2 separate regions of the Homo sapiens genome follow, and region 2 is linked to region 1. Evidence: promoter capture Hi-C in 16 types of primary human blood cells and fetal thymus (Javierre and others, 2016). All regions are on one chromosome and are shown on one strand. Each heading gives the region's core, a stretch centred on a gene start or on the middle of the fragment in contact. The rest is flanking DNA. Distances are from core to core; before and after follow the strand shown. Region 1 holds the start of TMIGD1 (transmembrane and immunoglobulin domain containing 1). Region 2 overlaps EFCAB5 (EF-hand calcium binding domain 5).

Region 1 (6,185 bases), core at 2,245-4,744:
ATGGACAAATTGGGTCTTGCATCTATAATGTTTTAATATTGTTTTGGCAGTGAAGAAAAATAAAAAGATGTTTAAGTAGTTGAGGTTTGTGTGGTAGACCAGTCTTTGTGGGTTGGGTGATCAGGATACATACCAGGTTTTTTTTGTTTTGTTTTGTTTTTCAGCTCTGACTTTTAGAAACCTATTCATTGCATAGTAATACACCTGAATTTCGGTTTTTATTTTTCTGATTCAGAAGCAAGTAACAAAAGCTAAAAAAGAACTTTATCTGTCATAAACCTGTACCCCAGATAACATTTGTTAATATGTTCTGTAAACACATTAACCTTCCTTTTAAAACACTTAAGCTGGCCGGGCATGGTGGCTCATGCCTGTAATCCCACACTTTGGGAGGCTGAGGCGGACGGATCACCTGAGGTCAAAAGTTTGAGACCAGCCTGGCCAACATAGTGAAACCCTGTCTCTACTAAAAATACAAAAAAATTAGCCAGGCATGGTGGCGGGCTCCTGTAATCCCAGCTACTCGGGAGGCTGAGGCAGGAGAATCACTTGAACCTGGGAGATGAAGGTTGCAGTGAGCCAAGATCACACCACTGCACTCCAGCCTGGGCAACAAAGTGAGACTTCTTCTCAAAAAAGCAAAAAACTTAAGCTACTTGTAAAGATAATGGTATTGTTGTCTAGTATTTTATTAAAATATGGAATATTGAGTGGTTGTCATCTCTGGATGAAAGTATTTGGGGGGATTTGTACTTTTCTTTTTTTTTTTATAGATTGCCTGATTTATTTTACAATGACTATGCATTACTTTTAAAATCAGAAAAGAGTGGTAGGAGAGCAAATGCTGGAAAGATTTTCATGTGAAATGGTATGTTCAGATAAACAGATGATTATTTGGGGTAACATTAGTAATAAAATGCATTAAAATGTAGGAGGATTCTGGTGGTGGCTCTGGAGAGAATAGAATACTTCACCTTGTCTTGTAATAATAAAACCCTAAAAACAATATTTTTCCATTTGATTTTTTTTTTTTTTTTTTTGAGACGGAGTCTCGCCCTGTCGCCCAGGCTGGAGTACAGTGACGTAATCTCGGCTCACTCACTGCAAGCTCCACCTCCTGGGTTCACGCCATTCTCCTGCCTCAGCCACCCGAGTAGCTGGAACTACAGGCGCCTGCCAGCACACCAGGCTAATTTTTTGTATTTTTAGTAGAGATGGGGTTTCACCGTGTTAGCCAGGATGGTCTCGATCTCCTGACCTCATGATTCACCTGCCTCGGCCTCCCAAAGTGTTGGGATTACAGGCGTGAGCCACCCGCCTGGCCTCCATTTGATTTTTTATTGTTAGTTGACTCCTGTACTGTGAGCCATGCTAACTGTGTAGTCATTCCAATTTGGAATTTAAGGATATATCCAATGCCCATTGATCACTTTTCTTAATCGGAAATTTTTCTTTATCTAAAAAGAGGCCAAAAAGAACTTTAACTTACTTGTCATCTCACGTGGCAGAAATAAAATTACTAAGAGAAGAAATCTTCCCATTTGCATTATGACACTGCTCTTCCATGCCATCTTTAATGAGTTAAACTCAGATCTACTAAGGGAAAAATAGTGCAGTTGGTTTTGTACTTTGGTCTGCAATGAGTTCGTGAACCTTCCTTCTGTCTATTATGCATTTAAAGTGAAGTCCCAGATGAATCATCCCAGCTATAACGGTACTACTTCTAGCTTTTAATTAAACAACCCTGTCTGACTAAGTTCAAAGTACATTTAGTAGTAAGAAATTTTTTTTAAAAGCAACATAAAACCACAGGAAATAGGCTATGACAGATAGAGCAGCGTCAGGGTGCCCTGGGGAAGATGAAACCAGTCTTCCCTAGAGAAACTGATAGAATTTCATTTTAGCAGAATGAAACTTGTCTCATTCTCAGACAGTCCCTACTGAACAAAGTAATTCTTGTTCTGAAAGTTTTTCTTGGGTCATTTTTGTAAAGATGTTCTCTGATAATAGAGAGTTTTTGAGACTACTCCAAATCCCATAGATTCAAATGGTGTGTACGTAGAAAAGCCTCAATTGAAACATGGCCTCTAGTTTAAACCATGTTAATCTTGTCTTTCTCCCACTATTCTCTCTCTCTCTTCCCCTTGACCCAATGGACTAAAAATAATAAATAATAAAGGTGTCCTTTCTCCCTTCTTGCTTTTGCTTCAACTCTCCCTCTCCCTAAGATATTCTCCATTTCCATCTGGGAAAAAAACATATATTCATTACTTCCTTTCAAGAGTACTACTATAAATATAGCGAACCACATACGGAAAACTTTCTGCGCAACAGGGACTGTGCTAAACACTTTACATACATCATTTCAGTCACAATTAAGCCTCCTAACAACCCTCCTGAGGTCGTTTCTATAGATTTAAAGAGACTATGTAATTTGCCTGAGATCCCACAGACAGTAAATGTCAAGGTCGGGATTTGAACCCAGACTCCCAAGACCATGCTCTTAACCACCCTACTCTCAACCACCCTACTACCCAATCTACTGCCTAGATTAATATTCTTTTCCTTTAAGAAGCTGCTGTTAGGCTGGGTGCAGTGGCTCATGCCTGTAATCCCAGCACTTTAGGAGCTGAGGCAGGTGGATTACCTGAGGTCAGGAGTTTGAGACTAGCCTGACCAACATAGTGAAACCCCATCTCTACTAAAAATGCAAAAAAAAAAAAAAAAAATTAGCCAGGCATGGTGGCGAGCGCCTGTAATCCCAGCTACTCGGGAGGCTGAGGCAGGAGAATTGCTTGAACCTGGGAGGTGGAGGTTGCAGTGAGCCAAGATTATGCCACTGCACTCCAGCCTGGGCGACAGAGTGAGGCTCGGTCTCAAAAAATAAAAATAAAAAATAAAAAAATAAAAAAAAGCTGCTGTTAATCTTTTCCAGTCCCTGGCCACTGGGAGTTCTCTCCCCTTAACACCAGTATTAATTTACAAGAGCTGAAATATACCTATACCTACTCTACTCCTCCCCTGTCCCAGGCGTGCCCTGACAGGAGTAAGTTTCATTCATGCCAGGCTCACCCTTTCTGGCAGACAAGCCTGCATCAATCTTTTCGTAAGATGCAATTACTACTAATATTGATTCTTTTGTAATTTTAAATATTTGCCAAAAAGATTTCTATCACAGTGTTGTAACAGTGATTACTGCAGAATGTGGTCAATAGTAGAGTTTTCTCAAGCGCTCTGCACTACAAGTACTCAATAAAAACTGAGAGTGCAGGCTTCTTGCCAGACCTCACCCAGCCCTATTAAGGGGACAAATCTATGTCTTCTCTTTCCCTCCACTCCACCGAGACAGCAACTTTTCAAAATGTATTCCCCTCACTTGGCTTGTTTTTAATCTGTATGACTCTCTACTTTCTATATAAGACAGTCTTACCACTTACCTCTTGAGCTCTGAGAAGCTGACTTCCTTGGCCAACTGTTCCTCTGCCTGAAAACCCTAAATGCTTTCCCTGTTACAATCCTTTATAATACTTGAATTTGAACGCTTTATGACAGCAGGGTCAAATAAATAAGATAACTTGGGTTCAAAGTCTGTTTTTCTTTATGGAGTCTTAGAGAAGATAGTAATTGGGAAAGACATCTTCTTAAGATCTAAGTTTCTATGTCTACCTCGGTTACTAGGTGGGGCCGGATATTACTAACAGGGATGTGTTGTTCCAAGAAAGCTTGAACTTGTGCAAAAATCTGTAGCGCATCTCACTGAATATTGTCATATTTAAGTAAGATGGCTGCGTTTTGATCATCTAGCCTGGGGATTGTGAAGGGACGAGTCCAAAGAGAAGTTTGACTTTAACAGAGGTCAAAACATTGGAAGATTCTACACAACTTAAATAATGCTGGAAAAGTCTTAGTTACCACTAGTAACCCAAGCCCAGTGCATAAGCTGTACCAAGCCAGGCATGGCAGGGAGCCGTTTTTTTGTTGTTGTTGTTTGTTTTGTTTTTTGAGGCAGGGTTTCACTCTGTCACCCAGATTGGAATGCAATGGCACAATTGTGGCTGACTGAACCTCTGCTCCCAGCCTCCCAAGGAGCTAGGACTACTGGCGTGAGTCACCATGCCCAGCTAAACTTTGTTAATATATATATTTTTGGTAGAGATGAAATTTCGCCATGTTTCCTAGGCTGGTCTCTAACTCCCGGCCTTAAGCAATCTGCCCACCTTGGCCTAGGGAACAGTTTTATCCTCTTGAGGCTCTCACCTGATTGGGAGATCCTTGCATTACACTATGTTTATGGTATTGTTAACGATGCAAATTTTATCTGCCAAGTACTATTGTTCCCATTTACACAAAAATATAACAGAAGAATATTTATAGTTATCTACACATTTTAACACACTGCTGAAGCACACCAGCAATCTGCCTCTTACTAGCTATGTAACTTTGAAAAGTTATTTAACCTCCATGAGCCTCAGGATCTTCATCAATACAATGGAAATAGTAATAGTACCCTCCCTACGGAGTCACTGTGAGGATTAAATGAAATGAAGCATGTGAATCTGCCGCACAGTAAGCTCTTGGTAAACAGTAGCTCTTATTACTATTATTATTAATATAGGCTGAGCAGGGCATCCTAAATCAACACAACCTCACTATAGCATTGTTCAAGCAAAAATCAGAGCTAAGAGCAGCTCCTGTTGGCTGGGTTGCAAGCACCACCCAAACAGGTTTTGAGTTTGCCTCTCCAGGGATCCAAGATTGTCATTTTAAAATGAATTTAGCAATGGAGTGATGTTTTGGTTCTTGGTGCCTCCAAAATAGACCCTGAGACAGAGCTTTGAGTGCCAATAGTTTATTTAAAGGTGATCTCGGCCGGGCACGGTGAGTGGCTCACTCCCTTAATCCCAGCACTTTGGGAGGCCGAGGAGGGTGGATCATTTGAGGTCAGGAGTTCGAGACCAGCCTGGCCAATGTGATGAAACCCCGTCTCTACTAAAAATAGAAAAATTAGCCAGGCATGGTGGCGGGCGCCTGTAATCCCAGCTACTTGGGAGGCTGAGGTGGAAGAATCCCTTGAGGCTGGGAGGTGGAGGTTGTGTTGAGCCAAGATTGGACCACTGCATTCCAATCTGGGCGAGAGAGTGAGACCCTTCCTCAAAAAAAAAAAAAAAAAAAAGTGATCTCAGGAAGCATAGTAAGGAAGTAAGATAGGGAAGGGAGGAAACTAGTAAAGAATGTGTTAAAGATTACTACCGTGAGCAACTATATCCCTGGAGCTTTGGACAAGTTGTATTCTGTGCAGCATACCTCAGAATCAACTACTGATAGGGAAGGAAGCAACTTCTCTCCATCTCCGGCTGAGGGACACTCTCAAGGTGTTGACTCTCTGGCACTTTCAGCCTGCCCTGTGAGGGCAAAGTGTACTCTCTCAAGCTGGCCAACATGTCCAGGAAAAGATGCTCAGGAAGTCACTGGCTATATGGGAACTCTTTGCAGGTAACTTCTGGGTAGGCCAAGGATGTGTGAGTAGAGCACCACCAGCAACTTCTACAATTGGATATTAGGTGATATTAGGAAATAATGATTAATTATTATTAGTTGTGATCATGGTATTGCAGTTATGTAGAGAATGTTCTAATTCTCAAGGGATGCCTGCTGAAATATTTATGGGTCAAGTGTCATGATAATTGCAACTACCTTTCAAATGATTCAGCAAGAAAAGTAAACACATAAACACACAGCAAATATAGCAAATGTTAACATTTATTCAACTAAATAGGGGTCTATAGATCTTCATTGTACTATTGTTTCAACTTTTCTGTATGACATTTTTGTCATCAGAATGTTGGGGAAATGTATTCAGCAGATATTTATTGAGTATCTACCATGTGCTAAGTATTCTAAGTATTGAGGATGCCAGTTGCAGCCAAGCCAATATGGTGGCTTTGTCATGAATTAGGGAAAATATGGCTTCTCTAGTCACTCTACTGCCATCTGTGGAAAATTGTTATAATAACTCTACAAAGCTATGATGTCTATAAGATGAATGATGCTTCCAGCTTAATGCTTCCACCACTTAATGCTTCCATAACATTAAGTGGTGATACATAGATGAATAAAACAAGCTCTGCGCTTTTGAAGGTCTTACATCGTAGAGCAGAACGTTAATGATGATCAGGAGCCATGCA
Region 2 (6,246 bases), core at 3,334-5,833, 300 kb before region 1:
TGTGACGTTTCTTTTATGGCAAAGGATACAGATATAGACAGTTTGTTATGTAAAGCAGGATATGATACAGCATACGTCCAAACAGAAGTCTCCCAAAGGTCTCCACAGGGATTATACCATCGGCATGCATCGAGGTATAGGGTGTCAAGCCATCCTGGCTTGCCTGGGACTGAGGAGTTTTCTGGAACATGAAACTTTCTGTGTTAAAACCAGGTTTTTGGTTCCAGGCAAAGTGAGGCACTTGGTCACTCGATTTGAGGAGTTTACTTGGCTATACTTACATGCTGTCCAGACCTTACTGCCCACCTGATTATTGTGGCGACTCTAGCCCCACGTCTTCCTGCTTACCAGGGGCAAGTGAAAACACCCAATACATTCTTCTTTACTATGAGACTATATAAAGCAAAGGTCAGTTTCCCAGGTGCATTCTTCAGTAGACCTGGGCCTCAAGCAGTCTGAGGTCCACTCCTGAATCATATAATGGGTTTAAGAATAATTATATGCAAAACTACAAATACTAGAAAGTATGGGATTCAGATATTGACTTTTGATTCTGCTACACGGAGGAACTGTTGTATCCCTTAGCCAGGAGGAATAAGGGCCATGCCTCTGCCTGGATTCTCTTTTTTGGGACCCATTCTGTTCTTGCTCAGTGGTGGTCCACTCTGAGATGGTCACTTCCTTATGGGATTGTTTAATATCAGTCATACAATCTGAGGCCTTCAAACTGATGTGGCTCCAAGTTTAAATTTTAAAGAGAAAGGCTTCGTCAACTGTACCCAAAGATTCTGTCTTTCCTTTAATATACTCTAATAAATCCAGGCTGTGCATTTTTCTTACAATGATATTTATCTGAATGGCTTTCTATTCTGTCTCTAGTTCATCTGTATCTTGTATTTTTTGCTTGTTTTGCTCATTTTGTTTTTTATGTGCTTTGAGCTGTAGCATGGAAAGACAGAAAAAATAATCACAGCTTTTGGCGAGGTTGAGGCAAGTATGTTGTGAAAATATATGAGAAAAACTTGGGGAGAAATGAGAGAATTTTAAGCCGGGAAAATAGGTGAACTACCCTCCAATTGGATGTGTCTCTTCCTAGGCAGTCTTCAACTATGGGAAACATAAATCAAGGACCTGCCTGATCAACAAATCCTTATTGGCTGTATTAGTTTGCTAGTGCTGCCATACCAAAGTACCACAGATTGAGAGGTTTAAACAACCGAAATTTAATTCCTCACAACTGTGGAAGTTAGAAGGCTGAGACAAGGTGTTGGCAGGGTTGGTTTCTTCTGAGGGCCTCTCTCATTGGCTTGTAGATGGCTGATTTTTGCCCTTGTCTTCATAGTCTGTACACTCTGTACATGTCTTTAAGTCCAAATTTCCTCTTCTTTAAGAACACTAGTCAGATTAGAGCCCACCCTATTGACCTCATTTTAATTTAATTACCTCTTTAAAGACCCTATCTCCAAATACAGTTATATTTTGAGATACCGAGGGTTAGGCTGTCAACATATTAATTTTAGGGAGTAAAACTTAGCTTATAACATTACCTAAGCTATCGTTCACCATCAGAGGCACATTTTTAATTTGTCATTTTTATTATTACTAGATAATAAATGTGGCCTTTGTTCAATTCATTTGTTAAGCAAAGTTTTGAAAAATCAGAAGAGTTAAAAGTATGTTACTACTTTGTTAAGTACAGATGCTCTTTGACTTATGATGGGATTACATCCTGGTAAATTCATTGTACGTTGAAAATATCTAAGTAAAAAATGCATTTAATTCATCTAACCTACTGAACATCACAGTTTAGCCTAGCCCATCTTAAATGTGCTCAGAACACTTATATTAGCCTACAGTCGCAAAATCATCTAACAAAAAGCTTATTTTATAATGAGGTGTTGAGTAGCTCATGTAATTTATTAAATATTATACTGAAAGTGAAAAACAGAATTGTTGTATAGGTACTTCAAAGTACTGAATGCATATCACTTTTGTGTCATCATAAAGTGGAAAAATTGTTAAATTGAACCATCATAAGTCAGGGGCTGTCTGTATATAATTAGCACTAATCTTTTTTTTTTTTTTTAAAGTTTCCTCCCTAAAACTGGAAAGCTAATTTTCTGCCCACAGGCTATAGGAACACACCATTTCTTCAGTGATAGATAACAAATATAACCTGAGTACTTCAATATTCTGTACTCCTTGTTTGCACTCCTCGTATACTACCAGGGCTTACAAATACCGTTTGGAAGTTAATACCTAAGATAGATAGTTTCCAAACATAGTTTTCTTTCTATTGCTCTTATATCACCCACTTCATCAACTCTTCAGTATGTCTACAATTAAATAAGTATGAATCCCACTGGCCCAGAGCTATAGAATCTTATAATAGCTATTAAATGTGATATTTACCACATTCTCAGCATTAAGTCAGAAAGGAAAATCCCAGAATTCATTACATTGGGACTTAGCACATAGAGATAACTTGACTAAGTACAGTTCAAATGTTTAACATCTCACAGAGATATTAACTGAAAGGTATTGGTAATTATATTCTTAAATTAAGCAATCTTTCCTTGGAAAGGTATGAAAACACAAAGGCTCCCATCGATTTTCACCTTTTTCTGTTTTTACAAGAGACATTGGCAAACTTCTGTAATTATCTGGAATTTGATTTGTAGTTGATATCGCCAACTGTTAGTCTTTATGCCAGCTAGCCTAAACTTACAGAACAATCAGAATATGCTAACTCAGAAAACCGACAGACTATAGCTCCAGAATATTTTTTTTTTCCATCAGAACTTTCAGGGATGAAAAATCCAGAAGTGTCTCTCAGAAAAAGGTTTGTTTGTTTGTTTGTTTGTTTTGAGACGGAGTCTCGCTCGCTCTGTTGCCCAGGCTGGAGTGAGATGGTGCAATCTCGGCTCATTGCAACCTCTGCCTCCCGGGTTCAAGCAATTCTCCTGCCTCAGCCTCCTAAGTAGCTGGGATTACAGGCACCCACCATTATGCCTGGCTAATTTTTTATTTTTAGTAGAGATGAGGTTTCACCATGTTGGCCAGGATGGTCTTGAACTCCTGACTTCAGGTGATCCGCCCACCTCGGCCTCCCAAGTGCTGGGATTACAGGCGTAAGCCACTGCGCCCAGCCCAGAGAAAGGTTTTTTAACTAATTCTTTTTTTTTTTTTTGAAACAGGGTCCCGCTCTGTTGCCTGGGCTGGAGTGATGTGATCATAGCTCACTGAAACCTTGAACTACTGGGTTCAAGTGATCCTCCCACCTCAGCCTCCTGAGTGGGACTACAAGCGTGCACCACCACTCTTGGCTAAATTTTTAAATCTTTTGTAGAGATGAGGTCTTCCTATGTTGCTCAGGCTGGCCTCAAGCTCTTGGCCTCAAGTGATCCTCCTGCCTAAACCTTTTAAAACTAATTATTGATTCAATAGCATTCCCACAGCCAGAAAGCTCATATGGCTTTGAAGTCAATTCCCAAACACTTAATTTAAAATTGGTGTTCTTCCAAATACCAATTTTTTTTTCAGCATTAGAGGATTGAGCTACATTGTTGCCAGAAAAGGTCAATTATTCAATAATTCTGACTTATGAGTAATATAGAAAAATACCTACTAGTCAAGTAAAAAGTCATTAAGGATCAAACAACAGGATCTTAGGATACGGGACTAATCAGGACCAGATACCCCAGATCATGTAGTTCAGTGGTTCTCAAACTTTAACAAGCATCAGAATCACCAGGGAGGCTTGTTAAACTATAGATTATTGGGCCCTACTCCCAGAATTTCTGATTCAGTAAATATGGGGTGGGGCCTAAAAATTTGCAGTTCTGACAAGTTCTCAGATGATGCTGATGCTGTTGGTCTAGGGATCACACTTTGAGAACCGCTGATCTTGTTGGGTTTTCTCCTTCTAAAGTTGTTTATCAGCTAAGAGGACTGTTTATTTAATGAAGAAGATGTTCTTGGCCAATTTGTTACCTACCTCAAGAGTAGACAAACACAATGGCTGAAGAGAACTTACTACGTGAAACACCCAGATCGTACATACCATAACTCAGTGAGGTAACTACTACTGTGATACCCATTTCACAAATGAACGGATATGAGAACAGGGAGTTGAGCCCAGACAGGCTTCAGAGTGAGTTCTTAACCACTTCCACTACTCTGCTTGTTCCCATGGTAACAGCTAAGAACTTAACTGTGTGCATTGATCCATCAAGAATAATGATAATGATGCTGGGTACAGTGGCTCATGCCTGTAATTTCAGTACTTTGAGAGGCTGAAGCAGGAAGATGACCTGAGCCCAGGAGTTTGAGACCAGTTTGGGCAACATAGTGAGACCCTATCTCTACACACACACATTTTTTTTTTTAATTAGCCAGGTGTGGTGGCTCGTACCTGTAGTCCCAGCAACTCAGGAGGCTGAGGTAGGAGGATCACTTGAGTCTTGTGACCAAGGCTGCAGTGAGCCATGATTGTGCCACTGCACCATTGCACTCCAGCTTGGGCAACAGAGTGAGACCCTGTCTCTAAAAAAATAAAAATAAAAATTATATGTCAATGAAATATGCCAAAAACATGTTCCATTTTAAACAAATTACTAAAGTGGAACATGATTTTTACAAACCATGTTAAATACATGCTAATTACAAGAACCAGAAACCAACCTGAGCTGAATATGTACAACTGAATATGAAATGTGCACAATCCAAGGGCTTCAGGAAGAGACTAGAACAAGGACTTGGAAAGTGTTAAGACTGTTTCTCTCTGCTTTGCATTTCATCTGTTTCTCTCCATAACAGACTTTCCCGGCAGTCTCAGTTCACATGGAGGAATCTGGCCACCCCAAAACTCTTAAATTTACATTTGAAGGGTGGCAAAATATGCTACCCCGAAACATTCCACTTTGGCATAAGGATTACTTTCAGCTAAAGGCACTTGAAAAATAGATACAAGAAGGGCATTCTAATCTCTTTTTCTTCTGGAGAATAGGAAGTTAAAATCTCCCATGTAAAAGATGTCCTCCCTGTATCAGGAGAAAGGAAACATTATTCAACTGGGAGTCTTAGCTGAGAGAATTCTGTACAAACAGACCTTGTTAAAATAATTATTATCTTCCTTTTAGTTTCCCAACATAATTTAGTTACTTTTCCACAATTGCCTCTCTTTGTTCAACTCAATATATTAATAAAAGCATGTAGTTTTTGCCATTTCTTTGGATCTTCATTTCTTTATGACAGCTCCTATGTCACATAAAATTTATATTAAATCTTTATTCCTTTCTCCTGCTAACCTATCTTATGTCAATTTAATTCTCAGGCCCAGCCAAAGACCCTAAGAGAGTAGAGGTAAAATTTTGCCTCGACTACACATTCACAAATTCAGGCCCACTCAGATTAACTGGCTGTTACTCAGTTCTAATCCCCAATTCCTAGTGGAGAGAATCTGAATGGCCTTAAGTGTTCCCCCTGGTTCAATCATTTATGGCTATGGAAGTGGGATCATGCAGTGTAACTTTGGCTACCTCTGTGCGTGAGGCAGGGGAGGAAATCATCGGCTGTGAGCTGAGCTCACACTTTTTTTTTTTTTTGAGACGGAGTCTCGCACTCTCGCCCAGGCTGGAGTGCAGTGGCGCCATCTCGGCTCACTGCAAGCTCCGCCTCTCGGGTTCACGCCATTCTCCTGCCTCAGCTTCCCGAGTAGCTGGGACTGCAGGCGCCCGCCACCACGCCCGGCTAATTTTTTGTATTTTTAGTAGAGATGGGGTTTCACCGTGTTAGCCAGGATGGTCTCGATCTCCTGACCTTGTGATCCGCCCGCCTCGGCCTCCCAAAGTGCTGGGATTACAGGCGTGAGCCACCGTGCCCGGCCGAGCTCACACTTTAAAAGGAGTGCACTCAGAAACTCTTGCAGTGCTTGATCACTTCTCTCTATCACAGGATACCTTCTATCTCTTAAAGTGTAGACCAAGAATGTAATTCGTTCCTGACCTATCAAATTGGCAAAAACCCAGATGCCAATATACACTGATGGTGAGGCTGAGAAGAAATAATCACTCATGCATTAGTCATAGGAGTGCAAAAGTGGGCAAGCCCCATGTCAAACCTACAAAATATTCAGGTGCATTAATCCTCTAAGCTAGAAATTCCACTTCTGGGAATCTACTCAACAGGGATCAAGAGAAATGGCCGAAGAGTATAGACGTTTTCAGTCCCTATACTTTAAAAGAA

Evidence for each region. The method cuts DNA at HindIII sites, captures the fragments that hold promoters and counts their contacts. A CHiCAGO score of 5 or more calls a contact.
Region 2: a contact is called between a fragment that was not itself captured here and the fragment with the promoter of TMIGD1 in region 1, in 1 of 17 cell types (M2 macrophages). The highest score is 9.7, in M2 macrophages.

Annotation. Positions count from the first base shown.
Region 1 is chr17:30,330,563-30,336,747 of GRCh38, forward strand. It overlaps TMIGD1 (transmembrane and immunoglobulin domain containing 1), which reads right to left and starts at 3,495. Exons shown (of 7, transcript NM_206832.3): 1 at 3,438-3,495; 2 at 1,490-1,596. The coding sequence starts at 1,571. The HindIII fragment of the contact is 5,890 bases long and covers 1-3,720 here.
Region 2 is chr17:30,027,491-30,033,736 of GRCh38, forward strand. All of the region lies in intron 7 of EFCAB5 (EF-hand calcium binding domain 5), which reads left to right. Among named protein-coding and RNA genes, the nearest start is that of NSRP1, 86 kb to the right of the region's middle. The HindIII fragment of the contact is 5,412 bases long and covers 1,878-6,246 here.